3 separate regions of the Homo sapiens genome follow, and regions 2 and 3 are each linked to region 1. Evidence: promoter capture Hi-C in human tissues and cell types (Jung and others, 2019). All regions are on one chromosome and are shown on one strand. The core of a region is centred on a gene start or on the middle of the fragment in contact, and the rest is flanking DNA. Distances in the headings are between cores, read along the strand shown.

Region 1 (4,277 bases), core at 1,223-3,722:
AGAAAACAAAAACAAAAAAACCCAGAAATCTACGAGAAACTAGACTGGGTAGCTTATGCTTATCTTTCTTAGAAAAGCATTTAACCCTTAACTAGCTGCCTCTGCCAATATTTCTAGGCACTGATTGTCCAGCTACCTAGCCTGGGTGCTTGTCCACCAACTGGCCCTAGTTTTTTCATTTCCCAGCTAATTCTGAATGGCCCAAATCCTCTTGATCTTTCTAGGTCCACCTCAAAGTTTACTTCACGAGTTTCGGGCTGAGCAAGGTGGCTCACACCTATACTTCCAGCACTTTGGGAGGCCAAGGTGGGCAGATCACCTGAGGTCAGGAGTTCAAGGCCTGGCCAACAACATGAAACCTCGTCTCTACCAAAAATACAAAAATTAGCCAGGCGTGGTGGCAGGCAACTGTAATCCCAGCTACTCAGGCAGCTGAGGCAGAAAAATCGCTTGAACCTGAGAGGCAGAGGTTGCAGTGAGCTAACTTCGCGCCACTGCACTCCAGCCTAGGCAACAGAGCAAGACTCCGCCTCAAGAAAAAAAAAAAAGTTAGTTTCTGATCCTAACCATAACAAAATCCTGAACAGTTGGTATACCACTATGGCAATTCAGTCCTGCCACATTTTCTAGCCTATTGCTTCCTCTAAGTACATTCCTTACAGGCAGAAACTATTAATATATTCGCACTTATGCCAGGTGCGGGTGGTTCACGCCTATAATTCCAGAACTTTGGGAGGCCGAGGAGGATGGATCACCTGAGGTCAGGAGTTCAAGACCAGCCTGGCCAACATGGTGAAACCTTGTCTCTACTAAAAATACAAAAATTAGCTGGGCATGGTGGCGGGCACCTGTAATCCCAGCTACTAGGGAGGCTGAGGCAGGAGGATTGCTTGGACCTGGGAGGCAGAGGTTGCAGTGAGCAGAGATCGCACCACTGCACTCCAGCCTGGGCGACAAGAGTGAGACTCTGTCTCAAAAACATATATATATATAATCTACCTTTCCTCCTTGCCACAGATGCAGCTAGAGCCTAAACGGAGAAGGTGCCAGTTAACTAGCCTTTGGTGATTTTAGCATTGAGACTCCGGTGCTAGCAGTGATTCCAGTCCACCTGATTCAGGCCACAGGAATTCTCCCAGAATCTTCACTACAAGTTGAAACTCCAAATCCTTAATCCTAGAGAGTAAATGCACTTAGGGTCAATGCACACCTAAGTATACCTTAGGTGCGCGACAGGTCTATTTCCTGTCAGAATCCCTAGATGAAAAGAGGAAGTAGATGGACACCCTTATCGGTCAAGCGCTGATGGAACACTCATCTACAAATGAGATACACATGCTGAGACCCTAAGCTGACCCAAGCTGATGGTGCTATCGAGACAAACCACTTTATCACATATTCATCAGCAGTCTCGGAGTTTTTCTTCCCATTCCCTCCCGTAGCGGCTCACCTTTGAGGCAGGAAAGAAGCAGTTCAGGCGGAAGCCACAATCTTTACAAAGCAGGCTTCAGAGAAGCTCACCATTCATCAGCCAGTGAGGGCTGTCACCTGCTAGTTGAGAACTAAACTCAGACATCAGATTCTTCCACAAAGGCCTCCTCACCAGCTGTCCGATGGGTACGGCGTTCAAACGACTCAAAACAGCACAACAAGCCTGGTTTTATTTCTGATGGTCCCCATCAAGGGAACTGAAACTACATGCCTCTAGATTACCTTGCGATCACTCCTCATTTTATTAAAAACATGAAGAAAGAATCCACCCCATTCCGGATATTTACCAAGCTTGACACAGGGAACACCACTATGCCATTTAACTTTGTGGACGTACGTGAGTCTCTCCCTCCCACCTTTCTGAGATGTGTTTCACTGCCAAACGGAGAAGAAACGCAAACACTCCCCAAAGCCGAAAAATGGCAAACGACCAAGATGTTTCCCGTGCCAAATCCGAATTATCCAGGCCTCGGCTCCAGACGTGGGAAGTCCCGCCATCTCCAAGGCCGGCAGGGAACCCTGGCTCGGGGGACGCGAGTGGGCAAACCCCAGTGTGGGGGGACCAGGCCGAGGTCGGCCGATGCTGGGCGACCCCCGCCAGCAGTTGGGGCGGGGTCTGCACCCTGAGAAGCGGTGAAAAAAGCCGGCGGAGGAGCCGCTCCCGACCAGCACGCTCCCCGCTCCCGGCCCCGCGGGCAGCCCCGACTGGGCCCGACCCCAGCCCGCCCTCCAGCCCCGGCTCACCCCGCCCCGGCGGGCAGCTGCGCGCCCCGGGCCCAGCCGGGCCAGCTGCTCGGCGGACGCCCGCGGTCGCGCTGGGCTCACTCGTGGCGGCGCGTGGCGGGCCCGAGGCCGCTAGGCACCATCTTCTCCCCGCGCCGGGGGCAGCGTCTGGCTCCGCGGGGCCGACGCGAAGACCAGACGCCAACCGGGCTCCCGCCGCCGCCTCAGTTCGGGCTCCGGCAACCGCGGTTTCCGGGTGAAAAAAAAAAAAAAAACCACGCCACCTCCAACGCCGCCGTGACCTCCGACCCCGGGCGTCCGACGGTGGCGCGGCCGGGACAAGCTTCGTCAGAGGCAGGCGGCGGAGACCACGCTTCCGGGACGGGTAGCGTGCATGCGGACGTGCGTGGAGTGCGTGATGGACGTTTATGGGTCTGTGTGCCGGTCTGGTGTTGTGCGTGTGCGTGTGTGCGTAGTGCGTGTATGTGGCTTGTAGTGTGCATCGTGTACAACGGTGTGTGCAGTGAGTGCATGTATGTGCATCTGTGTGCGCGTGTGTGGTGTGTGATGGTATGGGTGTGTGCATGCGTAGATGTGTAGGGAGTGCGCACACGTGTGCATGCTCATGTGTGTGCTATGCGTGTGTCTGTTGATGTGCTTGTATATTAATCACTGCTGATAAACATGTAATTTTGGACCAGGCGCGGTGGCTCAGGCCTGTAATCTCAGCACTTTGGGAGGCCAAGGCAGGAGGATCGCTTGAGTCCTGGAGTTCCAGACCAGCCTGGGTAACATAGGGAGTCTCTGACTCTATTTATAAATAAAATAAAATGAAAATGAAAATTTTTAAAGTATAATTTTGTACAATCACTTTGCAAAGTAATTTGGCATTATGCAGTACACTTAAAGATATACACATCCTCTCTTGAGAATATATTACCCTGGAGAAACAGTTGCACCTATGCACAAGTAGACAAAATAATGCTCATAGCAACACCAATGTTTTTAGCAGCAGTATGACTCACTAAAAATTGGGGAGAAAAAGCAGATGTCCATACAGTCAAATGTAAAAACCAACTTTGATATATTCATGGTTTGGTTTGTTTTTGTAGAGACAGGGTCTCCCTATGTTACTCAAGCTGGTCTCGAACTACTGGACCCAAGTGATCCTCCCACCTCGGGAGGATCTGGGATTACAGGTGTGAGCTGCCACGCCTGGCCCATCTTCGTGTTTAATCGGGTACAAAAGACCAGTGAAAATTATTTAATACAGCTCACACAATTATGGTAGTCAATTGCAGACTATATTGGCAGGGACCAAATCACAAAATGGTACACTGCTACATATTTCCATTATGTAAAATTCAAAACAGGCAAGTTCATAACATATTGTTTAGAGATGCATACATAATTGTTTGAACTGACATGAAGCATGAGAAAAAGATGTATAAACTTCATGTTAAGTGTTAGGGGAATGGGATGGGGGAGGAGTACAGGGTGCTTTAAAGGTAATAAAGTTTTGTTGTTCTTGCTTTTGAGACAAGGTCTTGCTCTGTCACCCAAGCTGGAGTGCAGTCGCATGATCATGGCTCACTGCAGACTCGGCCTCCCAAGCTGAAGTGATCCTCCTGTCTCAGCCTCCTGAGTAGCTGGGACCACAGATGTGCACCATCGTGCCCAGCTAATTTTCATATTTTTCACAGAAATGGGGTTTCCCCCAAATTGCTCAGGCTGGTCTCAAACTCCTGGGCTCAAGTGATCCGCTCACTTCCACCTCCCAAAGTGCTGGGATTACAGGCATGAGCCACCACACCCAGCCATCTTTAACAAAAGTTTATCAGGTGAAGCCTGTAATGTTCAACACAATGGCTCAGTTCCTTCACTGAATACCCTCTTATTTCCATGATTCTTGCCCTCTTTTGTTATCTTGCACCATTTGAATTATCTTCCTTGTTGTAATGGGTGTGACATTATCTGCAAGTGCAGGCAGTATTGAATTGTGTATATAATGATGGAACCAAACTTCCTAATGAGATGTCCCTTACCAGGCTAGGACTGATAAT
Region 2 (4,277 bases), core at 666-3,165, 400 kb before region 1:
CTATCCCCCTGCCTCAGCCTCCCTAGTAGCTGGGATTACAGGTGCCCACCACCAAGCCTGCCTAATTTTTGTATTTTTAGTAGAGACGGGGTTTTACCATGTTGGCCAGGCTGGTCTTGGACTCCTGAGCTCAAGTGATCCGCCCACCTCGGCCTCCCAAAGAGCTGGGATTACAGGCGTGAGCACCATGCCCACCCATGCCTCCTCTTTTTTTAAGAGAGAGAGTCTCACTCTGTCACCCAGGCTGGAGTGCAGTGGTGCAATCATAACTCACTGCATCCTCGAACTCCTGGGCTCAAACAATCCTCCTGCCTCAGCCTCCTGAATAGCTGAAACTACATGTGAATGCCACCACACCCAGCTAATTTTTTGTTTGTAGAGATGTAGAGACAAGGATCTTGCTATGTTGCTCAAGCTGGTCTTGAACACCTGACTTCCAGCCCTCCTCCTGCCTCAGCCTCCCAAACTGCTGGGATTACCAGAGTGAGCCACCTCGCCCAGCCTCCAGACCTTTTTGAATTCCAGAATTGAAAAGCAATTTTAGATCTATAATATGGTTTTTAGAAGATTGCTGAGGGCCTTGATAAGAAACAACAGTGGGGAGAGGAGAGCTTGAACTAACACTTACTGGAAGAAGACAAAGAAATCCTAGGCTGGGCACAGTGGCTCAGGCCTGTAAACCCTGCAGTTTTGGAGGCCGAGGCAGGCAGATCACTTGAAGTCAAGAGTTTGAGACCAGCCTGGCCAACATGGTGAAACTCCATCTCTCCTAAAAATACAAAATTATCCAGGTACAGTGGCACGTGTCTGTAGTCAGGAGGCTGAGGCAGGAGAATTGCTTGAAACGAAGAGGCGGAGGTTGCAGTGAGCCAAGATCATGCCACTGCACTCCAGCCTGGGTGACAGAATGGCATTTTGGTATTTTAGATACCAAAAAAAACCATTAAAAATTAAAAATAAAAACATAAAAATCTGCCCAGAGGCCAGGTGTGGTGGGTACACCGGTAATCCCAGCATTTGGGGAGGCCAAGGCAGGAGAATCACTTGAGCCCAGGAGTTGGAGACCAGTCTAGGCAACATTGCGAAACCTCATCTCTACAAAAAATACAAAAGTTAGCCAGGCATGGTGGCAGGCACCTGTAGTCCCAGTTACTCAGGAGGCTGAAGTGGGAGGGTGCTTTGAGCCCAGGAAGCAGAGGTTGCAGTGAGCCGAGATCTCGCCACTGCACTCCAACCTGGGCAAGAGAGCCAGACTTCATCTCAAAAATAAATGAATACATACTAAAATAAATAAAATGTATTTTTAAAATGCCTAGAACATTCTGTTCTTCTTTTTTTTTTTTTTTTTTGAGACGGAGTCTTGCTCCGTCACCCAGGCTGGAGTGCAGTGGTACAATCTCAGCTCACTGCAACCTCTGCCTCCCAGGTTCAAGCGATACTCCTGCCTCAGCCTCCTGAGTAGCTGGGATTACAGGCGCCTGCCACCATGCCCAGCTGTTTTTTGTATTTTTAGTGGAGCTAGGGTTTCACCATGTTGATCAGGCTGGTCTCAAACTCCTGACCTCGTGATCCACCTGCCTCGGACTTCCAAAGTCCTGGGATTACAGGTGTTGCGCCACCGCACCTGGCCGGGTTTTGTTTTCTCATTTCTGTTGTGTTTGTTTTGTTTTGTTTTTTCGAGATGGAGTCTCACTCTACTGCCCAGGCTGGAGTCAGTGGTTCAATCTCAGCTCACTGCAACCTCCAACTCCCGGGTTCAAGCAATTCTCCTGCCTCAGCCTCCCGAGTAGCTGAGATTACAGTCGCTCACTACCATGCCCTGCTAATTTTTGTATTTTTAGTACAGACAGGGTTTCACGATGTTGACCAGGCTGGTCTCAAATTTCTGACCTCAGACGATCCACCTGCCTCTGCCTCCCTAAGTGCTGTAATTACAGGCATGAGCCACTGTGCCTGGTCTGTTTTTGTTTGTTTGTTTGTCTTTTGAGACAGAGTCTAGTTGCCCAGGCTGGAGTGCAATGGCGTGATCTCGGCTCACTGCAACCTCTGCTTCCCCGGTTCGAGATTCTTCTACCTCAGCCCCCTAAGTAGCTGGGATTATTGGTGCATGCCACAACACCCAGCTAATTTTTTTTTTGTATTTTTAGTAGAGATGGAGTTTTCACCATGTTGGCCAGGCTGGTCTCAAGCTCCTGACCTCAAGTGATCTGCCTGTCTTGGCCTCCCAAAGTCCTTGGATTACAGGCATGAGCCATCATGCCTGGCCAGCAGGCAAGACATAGGGTTTATTAAGGGGACTTACAGGGTAGTCCAGACATGGCAGGTGGAACAGGAGAATCACACCTGCTTACAAAAAGCATGCAGTTGGGCCGGGCGTGGTGGCTCACGCCTGTAATCCCAGCACTTTGGGAGGCCAAGGTGGGCGGATCACAAGGTCAGATTGAGACCATCCTGGCTAACATGGTGAAACCCCGTCATCTCTACTAAAAATACAAAAAATTAGCCAGGCGTGGTGGGAGGTGCCTGTAGTCCCAGCTACTCGGGAGGCTGAGGCAGGAGAATGGTGTGAACCCAGGCGGCAGAGCTTGCAGTGAGCCGAGATTGTGCCACTGCACTCCAGCCTGGGTGACAGAGCAAGACTCTGTCTCAAAAAAAAAAAAAAAAAAAAAGCATGCAGTTTATAGAGCATTTCCACTTAGCACCCTCCCCCTAGCACCCTCCCTCTGGCAAACCTTCACTGAACCCCAAACAAAGGCCACCATCCCCTAGATGGTCCAGGGGTTCAGATGTTCCTCACAGATAAGAAATGAATCTCTGGGTTGGCCACTCCTGGATTCCTTAGCTTAGAATTTTCAACACATACTCTTCTTAAGACCATGGGGTCATTTTCAAGGTATGCTGATGTTACTGTTGTCAGATGTGTTTGCCATGCATCATAGCTAACCACTAGGAAGTTCTATAAGTGAGGCAAGGCCTTAAGAACATACTCTGAGCTAGAAGTGTCAAGTTGGAGGCCCTCGACATTAGAAGCCAGAGACTGGGTACACCCCACATAGTGAGAGAAGGTGAGGGATGTGGGGATGTGTCAGCTATATCCATTGCTACCCAGCAAACCATTCCAAGTCTTAGTGGAGAAAAATAACTTTTTTTTTTTTTTTTTTTTTTTGTCAGAGGCAGGTTCTCATTCTGTCACCCAGGCTGGAGTGCAATGGTGCAAACACGGCTTACTGCAGCCTCAACCTCCTGGGCTCAAGTGATCCCCCCCACCTCAGCCTCCCAAGTAGCTGCAACTACAGGCATGCATCACCATGCCCCAGTAATTTTTGTATTTTTTTGTAGAGAAGGGGTTTTGCCATGTTGCCCAGTCTGGTCTTGAAGTCCTGACCTCAAGGTCTCCACCCGCCTTGGCCTCCCAAAATGCTGGGATTACAGGCATGGGCCATCACACCCAGCCTGATGTTACTACTATAACTGTTTTGGGGTACCACGAACCATGCCCATATAAGATGGCAAACTTAACAAATGTTGTCTGTGTTCTGACTACCCTACCAACAAGCTTCCCTGTCTCTGTCTCTCTCCTCAGGCCTCCCTATTCATTCCTTGAGACATAAAAGTATTGTAATTAGGTCAATTAATAACCCTCTTAAGTATCCAAATGAAAGGAAGAGTCATATGTTTCTCATTTTAAATCAAAAGCTAGAAATGATTAAGCTTAGAGGCCAGGCGTGGTGGCTCATACCTATATTCTCAGCACTTTAGGTGGCCGAGGTGGCAAATCACTTGAGGTCAGTTTGAGACCAGCCTGGCCAACATGGCGAAACCCTGTCTTTACTAAAAACAGAAAATTAGCCGGGCACGGTGGCAGGCACCTATAATCCCAGCTACTCAGGAGGCTGAGGCAGGAGAATCGCTTGAACCTGGGAGGCGGAGGTTGCAGTGAGCCGAGATCACGCCATTGCACTCTAGCCTGGGCAACAAAGCGAGACACTATCTCAAAAAGACAAAAAAAAAAAAAAAAAAAAAGAAATGATTAAGCTTAGTTGAAAGCCAAGACAGGCCAATCAATAGCTAGGCCTCTTGTGCCAAACAGCCAAGTTGTGAATGCAAAAGAAAAATTCTTGAAAGAAATTAAAAACGCTACTCCAGTGAACACACAAAGGGTAAGAAAGTTAAACAGTCTTATTGCTGATATAGAGACAGTTTTAGTAGTCGGAACAGAAGATCAAACCAGCCACAACATTCCCTTCGGCCAAAGCCCAATCCAGATCAACATCCTA
Region 3 (4,277 bases), core at 1,329-3,828, 390 kb after region 1:
CGACTCCCCTGTCCCCTGCCGTGTCTGGGGACCTGACACTGGGTTTGTGTCTGTGCTCTAGCCGTGCCCTGTAGGGGAAAGGGCAACATCTCGATCTGAACAGATATTCCTGTTGGGGCTCTGAGGTGTGCAGGCTGGTGCCAGTCTCTCCCGCCAGGAATCGTGGCCACTGCTGCAACCGAGACAGCTCGCCCACACTGGTTAGCCCCGAGGGAGGGAGAATGCTAAGATCCTTGCTAACCTAGATGCCCCAGCCAGGCGTTTTTTGTTTGTTTGTTTGTTAATTGAGATGGTCTGGCTCTGTTGCCCAGGCTGGAGTGCAGTGGAGCAATCTCAGCTCACTGTAACCTCCGCCTCCTGGACTGAAGCCATCCTCCATCCTCAGTCTCCCGAGTAAGCTGGTGCTACAGGTGTGTGCCACTACCTGGCTTATTTTTGTATTATTTGTAGAGACAAGGTCTCACTATGTTGCCCAGGCTGATCTTCAACTCCTAAGCTCAAGCAATCCACCCATCTTGGCTTCCCAAAGTGCTGAGGTACAGGCATGAGCCACCATGCCCAGACCAGCTGAGCACCTCAGAGAGCTGCAGGTGGGTCATGAGTCCCCTTTCCTGACAGAGCCAGGCTCCTGCCACCCTCATCTTGTCACCATCAGGGAGCTCCCCAAGGACTGCTGTGGGCAGTGGTGGCCTCAGCCTCGGGTGGGGCAGGGCAGCTCCAGCATGCCTGGTCACCTCTGAGTCTAATCTGCTCACGGGAAAAACACGGATCAGAGAACCGCCTCAGAGAGCTGCTGAGAACACTGCAGGGGCAGGCGCAATACCAGGCCCTGCAAGGCCAGGGCCACAAGCCCAATGGTCTACCCAAGACTGATTGCCTGGGTTCAAATCCCAGCTCTGCTATCAGCTCGCGACCCTGGGCAAGTCCCTGAACCACTCTATGTCCTCATCTGTAGAGCAGCAATGGGCAGGCGTGCAGTGGCTCACGCCTGTCATCCCAGCACTTTGTGGGGCTGAAGTGGGCATATCACCAGAGGTCAGGAGTTTAAGACCAGACTGGCCAACATGGTGAAACCTCATCTCTACTAATAATACAAAAAAATTAGCTGGGCGTGGTGGCGGGTGCCTGTAATCCCAGCTACTTGGGAGGCTGAGGCAGGAGAATCGCTTGGACCTGGGAGGCGGAGGTTGCAGTGAGCCGAGATTGCACCACTGTGCTCCAGCCTGGGCAACAAGAGCAAAACTCCATCTCAAAAAAAAAAAAAGGGGGGTCAGGGGAGTGGGTTTAGTTTACTGTCCTGAATGCCAAGTCAGCAAACCTATTCTTGGGGGCACCTGCCTGAGCTTTCCTGAACCCAGGCTGGCTGTAAATGACACCCACGGCTGCAAACATTTCAGAGTGTTCTGTTTGGAAATGTCATAGTTAGGACTCAGTGTGTGTGGGGGTTCACCTCATGGTCTGCCCCTAGTGCTGTGCAGAAAGTCCTGCTGAAAGAACCCATCCCTGCAGCAGTGACCTCCTGCCCACTGCCCCTGGACAGTGACGCCTTTGGTGGACAGGCCTTCCCTTGACATTTCTCCTGCCCCTTCCTGCTCATGCTGTTCTTCGGTCTCCTCTCTCTTTAACACTGCCTGGGCAACTCTCAGCTTATCTTTTCCAACCTGCTGTCTGTTAGCCCAAGGAGTAACTGAATTTTGCGAAGGGGGAAAAAAAAGACAACCAAGCTCACTGAATCACAGCCATGCTATGTACACAATTTTAAACCAACTGGCTGGGGTGATGCCTGGGCTGGCTCTGTGGCTCTCTCCTGGGGCAAAGTGCAAGAGCCTTGGCCAGCCTTGGCCTCTCCCTGCCTAGTTAGAGGTCTTTAGCTCAGACTGACGATCTCGTATTGGTAATTACGACCATTCACAGCAGGGAGACGCAGCCAGCGAAGGGCAAGGGCGGTTTAGAGGGGAGAGACTGCGATCTGTAGCAGAAGCGTGGGATAATAGCCTTCCTCTCCCCTCCTGAACCATTTCACAGAGCCCCAACTCACTGCCAGGCCGGGGCAGAGTTCATGGCTGCAGCGATTGCACCACTGCTTTCCAGCCTGGGTGACAGAGTGAGACTCAGTCTTGAAAAAATAAAAAAGGTACATTCAGGTTCAGCATTTAACTGCTTGTAGGGCCTGTGCACAGGTTTAGCAGGAATTCCTTCAGCTCCATTTCATGGATGAGGTAACTGAGGCCTGGAGAGAGGAGGGCCAAGCTGCAGTGGGGCAGAGACCTGTGCCCGTGGCAGAGACCTGTGCCCAGGCCAATGATCATGAGTCTGTGTTGCTTCTGCCATCAGACCTGGCTGAGCCTGGACACTGCGTGCAGGAGGGGCCCTTAAGCCTTGACCCATTTTACAAAGGGAACTGTCTTTTTTTTCTTGAGATGGAGTCTCGCTCTGTCGCTTAGGGTGGAGTGCAGCGGCATGATCTGGGCTCACTGCAATCTCCACCTCCCAGGTTCCAGCAATTCTCTTGCCTTAGCCCCTCGAGTAGCTGAGACTACAGGCACAAGCCACCACACTCAGCTAATTTTTGTATTTTTAGTAGAGACGGGGTTTCACCATGTTGGCTGGGCTGGTCTCGAACTCCTGACCTCAGTTGATCTGCCCGCCTCGGCCTCCCAAAGTGCTAGGATTACAGGTGTGAGCCACTGTGCCCGGCCCAAAGGGAACTGTCTTAAAGTGGGATTGTTGAAGTACTCTCTGTGTCCCCAAGACCCCTCCTTCTGAACCCCTCTAGGGCCTAGACATGCCAGAGCCATCAAACCCCCAAATCCAAAACTCCAGTGTGGGTGGGAAGGAGGCTGCTGGAATGGGGGAATCTCCACTTCTCTTCCTCTGCATTTTATTTTATTTTTTTTCAGATGGACTCTCACTGTTGCCCAGGCTGGAGTGCAGTGGCACTATCTCAGTTCACTGCAACCTCTGCCTCCCGGGTTCAAGTGGTTCTCCTGCCTCAGCCTCCCGAGTAGCTGGGATTACAGGCGTGCACCACCATGCCTGGCTAATTTTTCTATTTTTAGTAGAGATGGGTTTTCACCATGTTGCCCAGGCTGGTCTTGAACTCCTGGGTTCAAGCAATCCACCCACCTCGGCCTCCCAAAGTGTTGGGATTATAGGCGTGAACCACTGCACCCGGCCTTCTTCCTCTGCTTTTCAAAAATTATGTTTTTAGAGATGTAGACTCATTTTGTCACCCATGGAGTGGTGCGATCCTAGCTCACTGAAGCCTTGACCTCATCCTCCTGCCTCAGTCTCCTGAGTATGTGGGCCTACCGGTGCACACCACCACGTCTGGCTAATTCTAAAATTTTTGTAGAGACAGGATCTTGCTACATTGCCCAGGTTGATCTCAAACTCCTGGCCTCAAGCAGTCCTTCCCCCTCGGCCTCCCAAAGTGTTGGGATTACAGGCGTAAGCCACCAGGCTGGGCCTTAAACTTTTTAATGGATCTATGCTTCTCTTCCGTTGCTTTTTTTTTTTTTTTTTTTTTTCTGAGACAGGATCTCGCTCTGTTGCCCAGGCTGGAGTGCAGTGGCATGATCTCAGCTCACTGCGACCTCTGCCTCCTGAGTAGCAAGCGTGCCACCATGCCTGGCTAATTTTTTTGTGTTTTTAGTAGAGATGGGGTCTTGCCATGTTGCCCAGGCCGGTCTCAAATTCCTGAGCTCAAGGGATCCTCCGGTTGCGGCCTCCCACAGTGCTGGGTTTACAGGCATGAGCCGTCACGCCCGGCTATAAGTGTTAATTGCATTCTTAGTAACAGCAAAACAATGGAAGCAGCCCAATCCCCAAGGAGAGGAGAGTGAGGAATTGCATCATGGTAAAATTCCACTCAATGGAAGATTATAGAGCCATGAGAACTAAGAGGCTACAGCTACACACTTTGACATTATGTCAACCAGAGCTAAGTGGTAAACAGCAAGACCCAGATTCTATTCAGTAACATGCCTTTGTTATAAAAGTAAAATTATAGGCTGGGCGCGGTGGCTCACGCCTGTAATCCCAGCATTTTGGGAGGCCGAGGCAGGTGGATCATGAGTTCAGGAGATGGAGACCATCCTGGCTAACACGGTGAAACCCTGTCTTTACTAAAAATACAAAAAATAAGCTGGGCATGGTGGCAGGCGCCTATAGTCCCAGCTGCTTGGGAGGCTGAGGCCAGAGAATCACTTGAACCCCGGAGGTGGAGGTTGCAGTGAGCTGAGATCACACAACTTCAGCCTGGGTGACAGAGCGAG

What was found. Contacts are between HindIII fragments. The study calls those that stand out against the background at their distance.
Region 2: a contact is called between a fragment that was not itself captured here and the fragment with the promoter of TMEM248 in region 1, in 1 of the 25 tissues and cell types used here (spleen).
Region 3: a contact is called between a fragment that was not itself captured here and the fragment with the promoter of TMEM248 in region 1, in 1 of the 25 tissues and cell types used here (spleen).

The regions. Positions count from the first base shown.
Region 1 is chr7:66,919,420-66,923,696 of GRCh38, reverse strand. It overlaps TMEM248 (transmembrane protein 248), which reads right to left and starts at 2,472. Exons shown (of 7, transcript NM_017994.5): 1 at 2,236-2,472. RefSeq lists a silencer at 2,181-2,430. The HindIII fragment of the contact is 13,933 bases long and covers 1-4,277 here.
Region 2 is chr7:67,313,905-67,318,181 of GRCh38, reverse strand. It overlaps the pseudogene STAG3L4. Among named protein-coding and RNA genes, the nearest start is that of LINC01372, 20 kb to the left of the region's middle. The HindIII fragment of the contact is 8,480 bases long and covers 1-4,277 here.
Region 3 is chr7:66,533,537-66,537,813 of GRCh38, reverse strand. It overlaps the pseudogene LOC100420547 and the pseudogene RABGEF1P1. Among named protein-coding and RNA genes, the nearest start is that of LINC03011, 42 kb to the right of the region's middle. The HindIII fragment of the contact is 8,360 bases long and covers 1-4,277 here.